3 separate regions of the Homo sapiens genome follow, and regions 1 and 3 are each linked to region 2. Evidence: promoter capture Hi-C in 16 types of primary human blood cells and fetal thymus (Javierre and others, 2016). All regions are on one chromosome and are shown on one strand. Each heading gives the region's core, a stretch centred on a gene start or on the middle of the fragment in contact. The rest is flanking DNA. Distances are from core to core; before and after follow the strand shown.

Region 1 (4,058 bases), core at 1,022-3,521, 1.0 Mb after region 2:
AGCAGAATAAAGTAAATAAGTTGGTTCTTTGACAAGATAACAAAATCAACAAACTTTTGGTTAATAAGAGAAGACCCAAATTACTAAAACCAGAAATGAAAATGGGACACTACCACTGAAATAAACATAAGAAAACACAATGAACAACTGTTTGCCAACAAATAACATAGATGAAATCAACAACTTCTTAGGCACACACAAATTACCAAAAACAATTCAACAAGAAATGGAAAAGATGAACATATCTTTAACAAGTAGACAACTGAGTCAGTAAACAAAAAGCTCCCAATAAAAAGGCCAGAAGCCTCTAGATGGTTTCATTGGTTGATTCTACCACACATTTAAAGAATTAACTCCAGTCTTCCTCAAACTCTCTTAAAAAATAGAAGATGGAACACTTCCCAACACATCCTATAAACACAGCATTATTCTGACACCAAAGCCAGACAAAGACACCACAAAAAACCATAAGCCAATATCCCTTGCAAACCAAATATAGCATCATATTAAGAAGATTAAACACTATAATCAATTGAGACAGGTCCCAGGATTATGAGGGTGGTTCGATATACAAAAACATATGTAATATCCCACATTAATAAAGAGAGGAAAAAACACACCATTATCTCAATTGATGTAGAAAAAAGAAAAAGAACCTGACAAAATTAAACTTTCATGATAAGAACACACAAAAAACTGGGAATAGAATTGAACTTCCTCAACTTGACAAAGAACACCTTTAAAAACCCCAGAGCTCACATCATACGCAGTGGTAAAAGACAAAGCTCTCCTGCTAAGGTCAGGAACAAGACAAGGATGCCCTCATTCTTCACTTCCATTCAACACTGTACTGGAAGTTCTAGCCAAGTAATTACTCAAGTAAAAAAAGAGGCACCCAAAGTGAAAAGGAAGAAGTAAAACTGTATCTCTATTTGCAGGTGAAAAGACCTTACATATAGAAAATTCTAAAGAATTTTCACAAAAGAAAACTGTTAAAGGTCATATACAAATTCGAAGGGCCAGAATATAATACCAACACGTAACATTCATTGTTTTAAGCATATTAGCAATGAACAAAAAGGAAATTAAGAAAATAATTATTACCTTTATTCAAAGTGCCAGAATATATGACCAACATATAACATTCATTGTTTTAAGTATATTAGCAATGAACAAAAAGGAAATTAAGAAAATGATTACCTTTACAATAGAATAAAAAGGAATAAAATATTGAAAAATTGTTAAGATGACAATACTCTGAAAATAAACCCACAGATTAACTGTAATTCTTATCAAAACCCCAGCTTCCTTTTTGGTAGAAATTGACAACCCAATCCTAAAGTTCACAGGAAAATGCAAGGGATCTACACTAGTCACAGCCATCTTGAAAACAAACAGAATTAAAGACGCACTTTTTTCTTCTCAATTTCAACACTTACTATAAAGCTTCAGTAATCAATACAATGTATTACCGGCATAAAACTAATAATAATTGAATCAACTAACTGAATTAAAGGTCCAGATATAAATCTATACATCTGTGGTCAACTGATTTTTAAGAAGGTGGCTAAGACCATTCAGTAGGTGAAAACAGTCTCTTCAAGAAATGGTGCTAAGACAAATGGATATCCACATGCAAAAAATGACGTTGTATTCCTACCTTATACCATATATAAAAATTAACTCAAAATGGATCAAAGACCTAAACACAGGAGCTAGCACTAAAAAATGCATAGAAGTGAAGATAACCCTACAGAATGGGAGAATATATTTGCAAGTCATATATCTGGTAAAAGTCTAATATCCAAAATATATAAAGTCTTTGGATTTAACAACAAAAAGAGAAACAACCCAATTAAAACATGGGCAAAGAACCTAAACAGATTATTTCTCCAGAGATATACAAAAGGCCAAAAAAGTACTTGAAAAGATACGGAACATCAGTCATTAACGAAATGCAAATCAAAATCACATGAGATTACCATTTCCCACATACTACAATGGCTAACTAAAAATAATAAAAAAAGAAAATAAGAAGTGTTGGTGAGAATGCAGAGAAATTGGAACCATTGTTTATTGCTGGTGGACATGTAAAATGAGGCAGCTAATGAGGAAAACAGTGTTATGGAAAACCTAAGAAAACAGTGTTAAGAAAAATGTTAAGAAAAACTTAGACACAGAATTACCATATGATCCAGCAATTCCACTTCTAGGTACATACACCAAAAATTGAAAACAGCTATTCAAAGAAATACTTATTACATATGAATATTCATAGAAGCACAATTCTCAATACCCAAATTGTGGAAACAACCCAAATATCCATTAACCAGTGAATGGATAAACAAAATGTCATATATACATACAACGAAAATTTTTATCCAGCCATAAAAAGGAATGCAATCTTAACATGTTACAATGTGAACCTTAAAAATATGCTATATGATAGATGCTAGAAACAAAAGTCACATATTGCACATATTGTATGATTCCAATTACATATAATATCCAGAATAGGTAAATCCATAGAGACAAAGCAGATTAATGTTTGTTGCAGCTGAACAGGAGGGAAGGGGGAATAACTGCTTTTAATGGGTACAGGGGTCTCCTTTGTTGGTGGTGATGAAAATGTTTGGAACTAGATAGAAGTGATGGTTGTACAACACTGTAAATGTACCAAATGTCACTGAATTGTATGCTTTCAAGTATTTTTTACTATTTTTTTGTTATGTGAATTTCACCTCAAAACACACACACACACACACACACACACACACACACACACGTGCACAAAAGTATTGCCAGGTTTCTGGAATAGAAATTGACAACTGAAGGACAATCCATACATTAGCATAAACAATCATAAACAGATAGGAAACAAGCCAAGTTTCTTCTGTGTGGTACTTCAAAGACAATTTCCAGTTGTTTCTTATAATAGCAGCTAACCTTGAGGAGGTTCCTTGATACATAAATAATAAGAGAAAAAAGCCATACTAGCTTGGGTAAAGGAAGACATCATACTAGTCACTGCATGAGCAACATGCAGGCACAGTGAATATAACTACAGTTAGTTAACCCTTGAACAACAAAGCTTTGAACTGCATGGATCCATTCATACGCCAGTTTTTTAAAATATGTAAGAAAATTTTTTGGAGATTTGTGACAATTTGAAAAAACTTGCAGACAAACTGTGTAGCCTAGAAATATTGAAAAATTAAGTTATGTCATGAATGCATAAACTATAGATACCACTCTATTTGATGACATTACTGTAAAATATACACAAATATAAAAAGTTAAAATTCAACAAAACTTACACACACAAAGTCTTAGACTATATATGGTATCATCCAAAGTCCAGAGAAATGTAAAGAAACGTAAAGATGTACTAATGAATAACTGCATAAAATTAACTCCGTACATAATAATTTCATAGCTATCTCCTGTTGCTATTGCAGCAAGCTCAGCTGTTTCAAGTATCTGCTTAAAATGTCATGAGGATAATCATCACCACCTGAGTGAATTTACTGTCACAGTAGAAGTGGTATCTCTCAGTTAACTCATTTTTCACTATGTTTAGAGCAATACCTGAAACCTTGACTAACACTACGGGACCCATAAGAGTTGCCACTAGTGATACTGGAAGTGCTTCCAAGAAGCAGAGAAAAGTCACGGTATTACAAGAAAAAGTTGAATTGCTTAATAAGCATAGAAGGTTGAGGTGTGTAGCTGCAGTTGCTCACCATTTTAAGATAAATGAATCCAACATAAAAAGTATTGAAGAAAAGGAAATTTGTGAAGCCACTGCTGCACCTACAGTAGCAGGTGCAAAAATCTTGCAGTTTTTGCAAAATACTTTTATCTCACATTCAAGATGCAGCTTTTATGTGGGTACAGAATTGCTATAAGAAAGGCATACCTACAGACTCTAAGTAAACTCATTATATGACAACTTAAAGCAAAAGAAAGGTGAAGAAAGAATTTAATGTCAGCAAAGAATGGTTTGATAATTTCAGAAAGAGATTTGGCTTTAAAAATGTCAAGATAATAGGAGAAAC
Region 2 (4,278 bases), core at 75-2,574:
TGATGGATATCCCAATTACACTGATTTGATAATTATACATTGAATACATGTATCACAATATCAGATGTATCCCTGAAAATATGTACAACTATATCAGTTTAAAGATATAAAAAAAATTTTCTGTCCAAAGTTAAATATGTACAACTACGATATATCAGTTTAAAGATACAAAAAATAATAATTTTCTGTTCAAAGTTAAGCATATACATGGCACCTATGATGCTAAAACCAAGGGCCTTTAGGTCTGGAAGAGACACATAAAGTCAGGTCCTCGCGAATCTACTTCTGAAGGGGACAGAATCGGTATAGGCATATGACAGTCTAGAATCAAGACACAAGGGGTGTGGAGCGATAAAGAGCAAACAGGGAAGGGAACTAGGGGGACCATGGATCCAGGAAGGGGCTGGAAAAGCTACTTCTGGGCACCCCTGGAATCTGGGTATCCAGCTTCGAGTTAGAAGGGGGTCCTTCAAGAGAGCCTCAGGCGGGGGCTGACTGCCGAGAGTTACTCTGTCCTCCAGGTTCTTCCTAACAAGAAGCTACGAAGTTCTTATTCAGAAAAACGGAACACGACATCACACCCACGTGAAAAAAACGCTTTTAAGAGGCCAAGTCACTTTCACCTCCCACCAACTTGCCAAAGGCTGAAAGCAGGCGGACACGCCCCCAAGCGCTCTTCTCCGATTTCATTGGTTGCCCCGGCCTGCTCCTCATTAGGTCTCTCTCACTGGTCAGCAATGCCGCTTTCACAGCCAATTCTCAGAACCAATCATCTCCAACTATTGCCCCGCCTCTCCACCACGTGAGTGGCATAGGTGCCAACCAATAAAAAAAGAAAATAAGGATGTAAAGACGAGACTCCTTCCCTTTTTCCTCAACTCGTTCAGTAAATGGTAGAAAAGGTGGAGCAGCTGATACCAACCACCAATCCATGAGGGCGGAAAAGGATGATGAGAAGAGCGATGGGAGGGGGTGACGTGGCAGTGACAGGCGCATAAACTGAAATGAATGGCGGAAACAGCAGCCAATCGGCGATCAGATTGGCCGGGCATTCCGCATTCTCCCGTCCTCCCTGAGCGCTGGAAACTTCAGGAAAGCACCAATGAGCTTCCCCAAAAGTCTGATTGGCCTTTATCTGAACCAATCAAAGGTGGGTCTGGCGGACGCGTCCCACCCCAGGCTCTCACTGGGCGCTGTAGAATGACAGGCCCGAGAGAAATGCCAATATCCGCGGGGTCTTCCTCAAGTGACACTCAGCGGCACCAATCGACGTCCTTCTTCCCGGCGGCCGAGCCCTCCTCCCCGCGGCTGGCCGGGCGGGGCGGGGACGCTGCGCGGCGGTGGCTGATGCGGTAGCCGTGTGGGGCGCTCCGGGCGGCGACGGCGGCTCTCGTAGGCGGTTCCGGTCTTGTATCTCCAGGCGGCGGCGGCTCATGGCGGCGACGGAGCTGAGAGGAGTGGTGGGGCCAGGCCCGGCAGCCATTGCAGCACTTGGCGGCGGCGGCGCCGGTCCCCCAGTGGTGGGAGGAGGCGGCGGCCGCGGAGATGCGGGGCCAGGCTCCGGGGCCGCGTCAGGGACGGTGGTCGCGGCGGCGGCGGGAGGCCCGGGCCCGGGGGCCGGGGGAGTGGCGGCGGCTGGCCCGGCCCCTGCGCCGCCGACTGGGGGCTCGGGCGGCTCGGGCGCTGGGGGTTCGGGCTCGGCTCGAGAGGGCTGGCTCTTCAAATGGACCAATTATATCAAAGGCTACCAGCGGCGATGGTTCGTGCTGAGCAACGGGCTCCTGAGCTACTACAGGTAACTGCTTCCGGGGCGCTGTCGCTCACCTTGCCTCCCCCATATCTGCCAACAGTCCCAGCTCCGGCATTACCGCCAGCCGGCACCGCAGCCAGGGTTGCCCCAGGCCCCTTTTCGTCATCTGTGCGGATTGACAGCCCAGGGGTCGGAGCCCACTGTCACGAAAGTGAAAAGCCCCTGGACGTACACCTCCCCTCCCCTCGGGTTACCCACTCTTGGTGCCTTATCTTCCCTTCGCTCCCGGCCTTTCCAGTCATTAGTCGTTTGGAGAGCGTCTGTGCTTCCATTGTATTTCCACCAGCACATGGGTGCAATTATTAATTCTGCAAGCAAGGCACTGGTGTAGGTACTAAGGGAACACATGCAGCAGAACAAACCCGAGGCACTCCTCCCAAGGAACTTACAGTGGAAGTCCCAAGTTGTAGCTGTCAGTGCCCAGTCTCCAAAACTCAAGGTTATTCGTAGCTCTGGATGTACCCGTCCTTGCTCCCTTCACATTCAGACATAAGGGCATCACACACACAGGGTGGCTTCGGTATTCCGTCCCCTTTCTGCCTTATCTCTCCAAGACTTTGCATGTGCTTTGGCCTCTGGACAGCCCAGAATGGAGATGTGCACCCCAGTGCTGCTTTTATTTTTGCTTGCCCCACCTCCTCCCGTGGAAATGATTAAGTGTTTTATCTGGCATTTCTGTGATTTTTTGGTTAGTTAGGATTAACTTTTATTAAAAGAAGAATCCATGTCTTTGGTGTGATTACTTCTGTTCAACAAGGTTTATTTTGGACTGTTTAATATATATTTATGGTGACTCATAACCTGGCCATCACATGGCACGCTTTTGGGCTAAAAAGGATAGAGGAGTTAAGATAGGTGATTTGGGGACAGGGCGTAAACATTTCCTGAGGGCTGGACAATGTGTCTAGGTGTTTTATATACAGTATTTCATTATAGTATTTTGTTGACTCCCAACAACAACCCTAGGAGTTGGGAAATATTCCCATCTTACTGATGAGGAAAACAGACTTAGCATGGGCAACTTTCCCAAGGTTTTTGAGCAGCTGGGATTTGAAACTACTTCTGTTCACACTAATCTAACCTAAAACTCAGGTTAGTGTGAAATGAATCGGTCAGTTACAGAGATAATTGCTTATCAATAGCAAGTAATTTTATGGATCATGCTTACTATGTGTATTTTATGCAAAAAGTATAAAAGTCTCCTTTAAGGGATATTTTGCTTAATGACATTCCAATTGAAATATTTTTTTCCAGAGACCATCCTCTTTGAGACCCAAAACACTGATGTTGAAGAGCAGCTCACTCTATATTTCTTTTCCTTCACCAGGAATCATTCTGCTACCCAGAGAGTTAGGCTGAACAAGTCTCTTTTCCATCAACTCCACTGTATTGGCTCTTAGAGAATTTTGAGGAGAAATTGAAGGTGGGAGTTGGAGGTTGTTGGCAGGAACACATTTTTACCTGTCCTCTTACAGGGCAAAATGCCTTAGATAGCTCATCCTCACTGCTTAATCAACAGTTGTGAATAATTGTATATTTCATTTGCATTACTGTATTCAGAATTGATTTTAATTATGACCCTTTCGAACTACTTATCCAGGACCATCCATTTAAACTTAGATTACAAATCTAAAATTTTAATTTCCCCAGATTTTTCTCTCATTCAAGTTCATGTTTTCCTGTTATTATTGACCATCATTTTAATGTTTAATTGATTTATATCCTGACTTGTGTCGCAAGTCAATATTAATACTGTTTTTGCATTTTCAAAAATTGTATATCACCTCAGGGCCTTCGTATGTGGTCATTTCTCATCCAAGTTCTTACCGGATCCACTTTCCAGGCCAGTTGATTCTTTGATCAGTACTAGTGTTGATCAATAGTGATCTTAGACACTAATAACTTACATGTTGCTGTCTCTTTAAGTATTTGTTACCACTTTTAACTTCTCCCTTACAAGAGCTAGTGGTACCTGTCTGACTACATATAAAACTCCTTCCAAAACATACCAAACCACATATTGGGAAATATGCCATAGGCCTGCCCTAGTCAACTTAGGTGGTCCCACCCATAAACAAACCAGCGGGATCCAGAGTTATCAATCTGTGCACTACCCTCAAAATTGCACTGAAATACCTCCTATCAAGTATACTGGCAGTTTATTTTTTCCTGCAGGATTCTTCTGGTCCTCATCTTCCTCCAAGAATTATTTAGACAAGTTGTCATTCCTCCTGCTTTTCATACCTCCAAAACCTGCAGTTTCTTATATATGCTGTTTCCAAAATACTGTTTTCCTTTTAAGTGGGATTGTGTACTTCCTAGACCCATCCTCGGATGAGCTGTCCTAATAGGCCTTGGCAAACCACTTCCTTTACCTATCCTGGGCTTCCTTACGTACCCAGTTACTTAGATGTCCCATTACTTAAAACCTTATATGGAATCCCAACTCTCCCAGAAACATTGTGACA
Region 3 (4,143 bases), core at 1,104-3,603, 1.1 Mb after region 2:
CCTCATGTGGTCGTGTGGTGGGTGGCCTGTGAGATGCGTGGAACCTCCTCAGAGTCAGTAGAAAATGGGAGAAATTGTGGCTTAATGTCATACAAATTATGTTTAGGAAATAGAGGCTAAGTAATTTTGCCATAGAGTATAGTGTAACCTAATTGTTTTATTAAAGCAGTTTTGTTATTATTTGTATATGTGAAGCTCTATTTGTTTTATTATATGGTAATGCCTTTTGAATTTTACAATAAACCCTTTCAGCAGTTAGCTCAAAACAAAACCCACATGTTTAATTGTCTCAAGAAAGCTGATAATGAATATGCAACGTGCAGAAAATATTTTTCAATATTTACCATGTACCATGCAGGCAAGTAGAAAGATCACTATCCCTTTGAAAACCAGAAGGTACAAATATGGTGAAGCAGCTTTGGCATCTATTTCCAAAGTTAATAATTTAAGAAGAATATGCCTTAAAATGACTTCAACACGGCAGCTGCAGGAGGCCTATGTACATGTCATTGTGAAGCACACCTTCCCATTAGTATCAAATAACTCATAAATTAATTTTGCTCATTTTCAATTCCAAGTTTTCTTGTACTTGTAAGTAAACTGGTAATAATTAATGAGTGATTTTCCTTTGCAAACCTTCAAATAATGTTTTTTATAATAATTTCCTTAGAGGTCTCAATTCAAAAATGTATTAATTCTGAAATGTTTCAATTTTGTTTTTTATCTAATTCAAACAATCAAAATAAAATATGTGAAAATTTATTTCCTAGTCAAAAAGTGAAACATCTGACATTGTTAATGCCACTGTAAATTTAGTTGAAAAGCTCAACATTGAAGGTAAACTGTTGTTTTTGTTGTAAGAATATGAATACAAATGTTAATAGAGCACAGCATTGTGTTAAAAATGTTCTTACCAAGTTAACAAGCTATGAAGCAGAAATGTACTTGGAATTGGTTGTAATGTGCACAAAATTTGTGACTGCATTCAAACAAGCTGCGGTATTCTGTCAGTCAAAACAGAAACTAAAATTGTCAAAATGTATAAATTATAAATATATATATACACACACACACACACACACACAGATTTTATAAGTAACTGATCTACAAAACTTTTCTGACAGAAGCTGATATTGAACACTACCATGCAAGGAAACATTTCAGAATGACTATATGTATATTCCTGTCTGTGTTGCATGTCATCAATTGGATTTTGGGAATGCCTGAGCCTTTGAAAAACCACTTTGTAAAGCAACCCAAATTTAGATTGCATTATGTTCAAGACCAGTTGGAAATTTTTAATCGATTACTGAATGAATGTAGCATGAAAATTCAGCTTTTGAAGCTTTTAGCAAGTTACAATTATGTAAAATAAGGCTTGCAAAGGAAGAAGCTCAAATTTCTCCCTACAAAAGCGAAGAAGGAGTTGAACAAATCAAAAGATGAAAGCAGATATGGTTTAATTATCTATTTTGACAATTGTGCTTCAGAAAAATCTTGACTTTGATGTATTTTGACTTCTAATTTTATTTGGATAAATTTTTATTCTCTACCAAAATGGAGAAAAATTGTGAAAGTCTATGATTTTGCAGTATCTAGATTTGGTGAAATGTTGAAACAATCACAGATATAGACAACTTGAAAGTTTTATCTTGTAAGAAATTATTGAGCAAAAGTGCTTTGAATGAAGGTAGAAAGACAGCACCTATGACGATATTGGCCTGAAATATTTACATATTTTAATCTAAAAAATGAGAAGATTCTTCATTTAGCAGAACTTACAGGTTCATCAGTATCTAGAGAGGAAATGTGTTCTCAGTTAAAAACATATAGTGAAGCATCAATTAAAGTTGTCCATAATTTCAAATATATTAACCATAAAATGAAGTTTTGAAAAAGATTGCAGTTTTATAAAAAAATAACTGTTTAAATAAAAAACGAAAAAAAACACATGTTCCTGAAAAATGTCCACATCCCAATGCTAGAGACAATAATATCTAAATAACCAATTAAGGTATGTGAATACATATAAAGAATAATTGTCTGTACCATTAAAAATGTTCAGATAATCAATTTTTTGTTGTTGTTGAGACAGAGTGTCACTCTGTTGCCCAGGCTGGAGTTCAGTGGCATGATCTTGGCTCGCTGCAACCTCCGCCTCCTGGGTTCAAGCAATTCTCCTGTCTCAGCCTCCCGAGTAGCTGGGACTACAGGCACCCACCACCATACCTGGCAAATTTTTTTGTATTTTTAGTAGAGACAGGGTTTCACCATGTCTGGTCACATGACACCAGGCTGGTCTCAAATTCTCCTGACCTCAAATGATGCACGTGCCTCAGCCTCCCAAAGTGCTGGGATGATAGGCGTTAGCCACTGTGCCTGGCCAATATTTTTTTAAAGTTGCTTGAATGTTCATAACTTTGTATCACTATCACTTTAAGATATTTCAGGAAATTTTTATTTTGAAAATAAATTTTGGATAGAATTATCTTATAGGTCCACCAATATAATAAGACCAAATTCAGGTCAATAAACACATTTTTTTTTTTTTTGAGACCGAGTCTCGCTCTGTCACCCAGGCTGGAGTGCAGTGGCATGATCTCAGCTCACTGCAATCTCTGCCTCCCGGGTTCAAGCAATTCTCCAAGCCTCAGCCTCCTGAGTAGCTGGGATTACAGGCACGCAACACCACTCCCAGCTAAATTTTTATAGTTTTAGTAGAGATGGGGTTTCACCATGTTAGCCGTGATGATCTCGATCTCCTGACCTCGTGATCCGCCTGCCTCAGCCACCCAAAGTACTGGGATTACGGGCGTGAGCCACCACGCCCGTCCAATAAACACATATTTTAAAAATGATACAAGCTCGTGACCCGTCTGCCTCGGCTGCCCAAAGTACTGGGATTACGGGCATGAGCCACCATGCCTGGCCAATAAACACATATTTTAAAAATGATACAATATGACTTATTTTTGGAACCCATTTTCTTTCTAAAAAATACCCCATTCTGAACGTTTGGTGATGTGGCCACCTCATCTGTATGATCTGGCCCCTTTACTTGCTGTCCCTGTGTCCTTGGTTCACTCTGCTCAGGCCACACTCTCCTTCTCGTGGTTCCACAGATGCTCCAGGTGGTTTTCCTGCTGGCCTTTCCACCTGAATCATATGACCCCAGATATTTGCTTTCTTTCCCCACCTCCTATATAAGTCCTTGCTCAAGCGTTCTCTTCTCAGTGAGTCCTTCCCTGATCAGTATATTTATAATTGCTGTCTCTCCCCACTTCCCATCCTCTATGCAGAATATTACTTTTACATACCAATTTCTTTATTATTTGTTTCACAGCACCAGAATGTAAGCTTCAGGGCTTACAGTTTTTATTTGATTTTTTTGCTTTTTGACTGCTACATCCTCAGCCCTGGCACATGACAGGCCCTCAATACATATTTGTTCAATTAATAAATGAATTGCCAGCCAACCATCTTTTAGATTCACATGTTATTTCTTTTCATATGTCAAGTTTAATAACATTATAGTCTCCTCCTAGGCACCATCCTGTTTAGTTAAAGGGGCTTAGCTCTGACCCATTTTATTTGATTTATGGTTCTTATCTAAGGAGGATCAACTTCTCTATTTGGGTGGTTTTTAGGCAAGGAGGGGCTGCTAGTGTTTGTTCACATGCCAACTACTCTGTTTAGAATTTGGCTTTTCTTTGTGGGATGGCTGGTAATTCCTCTGGCTTGTGAAAGAAGAGCTCATAGATATGCCACTTGTCAGTCCCCTTTAAAAGCTACAAACATCTATTAACTGTGGGTATCATTAAGCCTCAACATTCTGATAACAAAAATTTATTCTTTGCTCTTCTCTTGTCACTTATATATCTTAGGCGCAGCTCGTGTATACTACCAATATCCAGGAGCTCAATGTCTACAGGTATTTTTTTTTCTATTAAATGCTTTTAAAAATTAAAGTTAGTAGATAATTGTTATCAATCTTTGTTTGGGTGATAATTTGCTTTGCAAGTGTTTATTATTAGAACTCGTATATCATCCTCCTCTTTCCATAGTCTTTGAGCATAGGTAGAATTCTGTGAAGCTGACTTGACAACTTCTCAAGGTGCCTGGCTTCTGGAAGGGTTGTCTAGG

Evidence for each region. Contacts are between HindIII fragments. The CHiCAGO score rates a contact against its expected background, and 5 or more counts as called.
Region 1: a fragment that was not itself captured here is called in contact with the fragment with the promoter of OSBP in region 2 in 1 of 17 cell types (naive CD8 T cells); the score reaches 5.3 in naive CD8 T cells.
Region 3: a fragment that was not itself captured here is called in contact with the fragment with the promoter of OSBP in region 2 in 1 of 17 cell types (neutrophils); the score reaches 5.8 in neutrophils.

What each region holds. Positions count from the first base shown.
Region 1 is chr11:58,597,477-58,601,534 of GRCh38, reverse strand. All of the region lies in intron 2 of ZFP91 (ZFP91 zinc finger protein, atypical E3 ubiquitin ligase), which reads right to left. All of the region lies in intron 2 of ZFP91-CNTF (ZFP91-CNTF readthrough (NMD candidate)), which reads right to left. Among named protein-coding and RNA genes, the nearest start is that of ZFP91-CNTF, 20 kb to the right of the region's middle. The HindIII fragment of the contact is 1,645 bases long and covers 1,449-3,093 here.
Region 2 is chr11:59,612,820-59,617,097 of GRCh38, reverse strand. It overlaps OSBP (oxysterol binding protein), which reads left to right and starts at 1,324. Exons shown (of 14, transcript NM_002556.3): 1 at 1,324-1,795. The coding sequence starts at 1,434. LOC101927226 (a long non-coding RNA gene) reads right to left here and starts at 1,144. Exons shown (of 3, transcript XR_001748237.2): 1 at 923-1,144. RefSeq lists an enhancer at 862-951 and silencers at 1,152-1,451, 1,472-1,691. The HindIII fragment of the contact is 16,614 bases long and covers 1-4,278 here.
Region 3 is chr11:58,563,943-58,568,085 of GRCh38, reverse strand. LPXN (leupaxin) reads left to right here. Exons shown (of 9, transcript NM_004811.3): 3 at 3,885-3,931. Among named protein-coding and RNA genes, the nearest start is that of LPXN, 9.8 kb to the left of the region's middle. The HindIII fragment of the contact is 2,012 bases long and covers 1,348-3,359 here.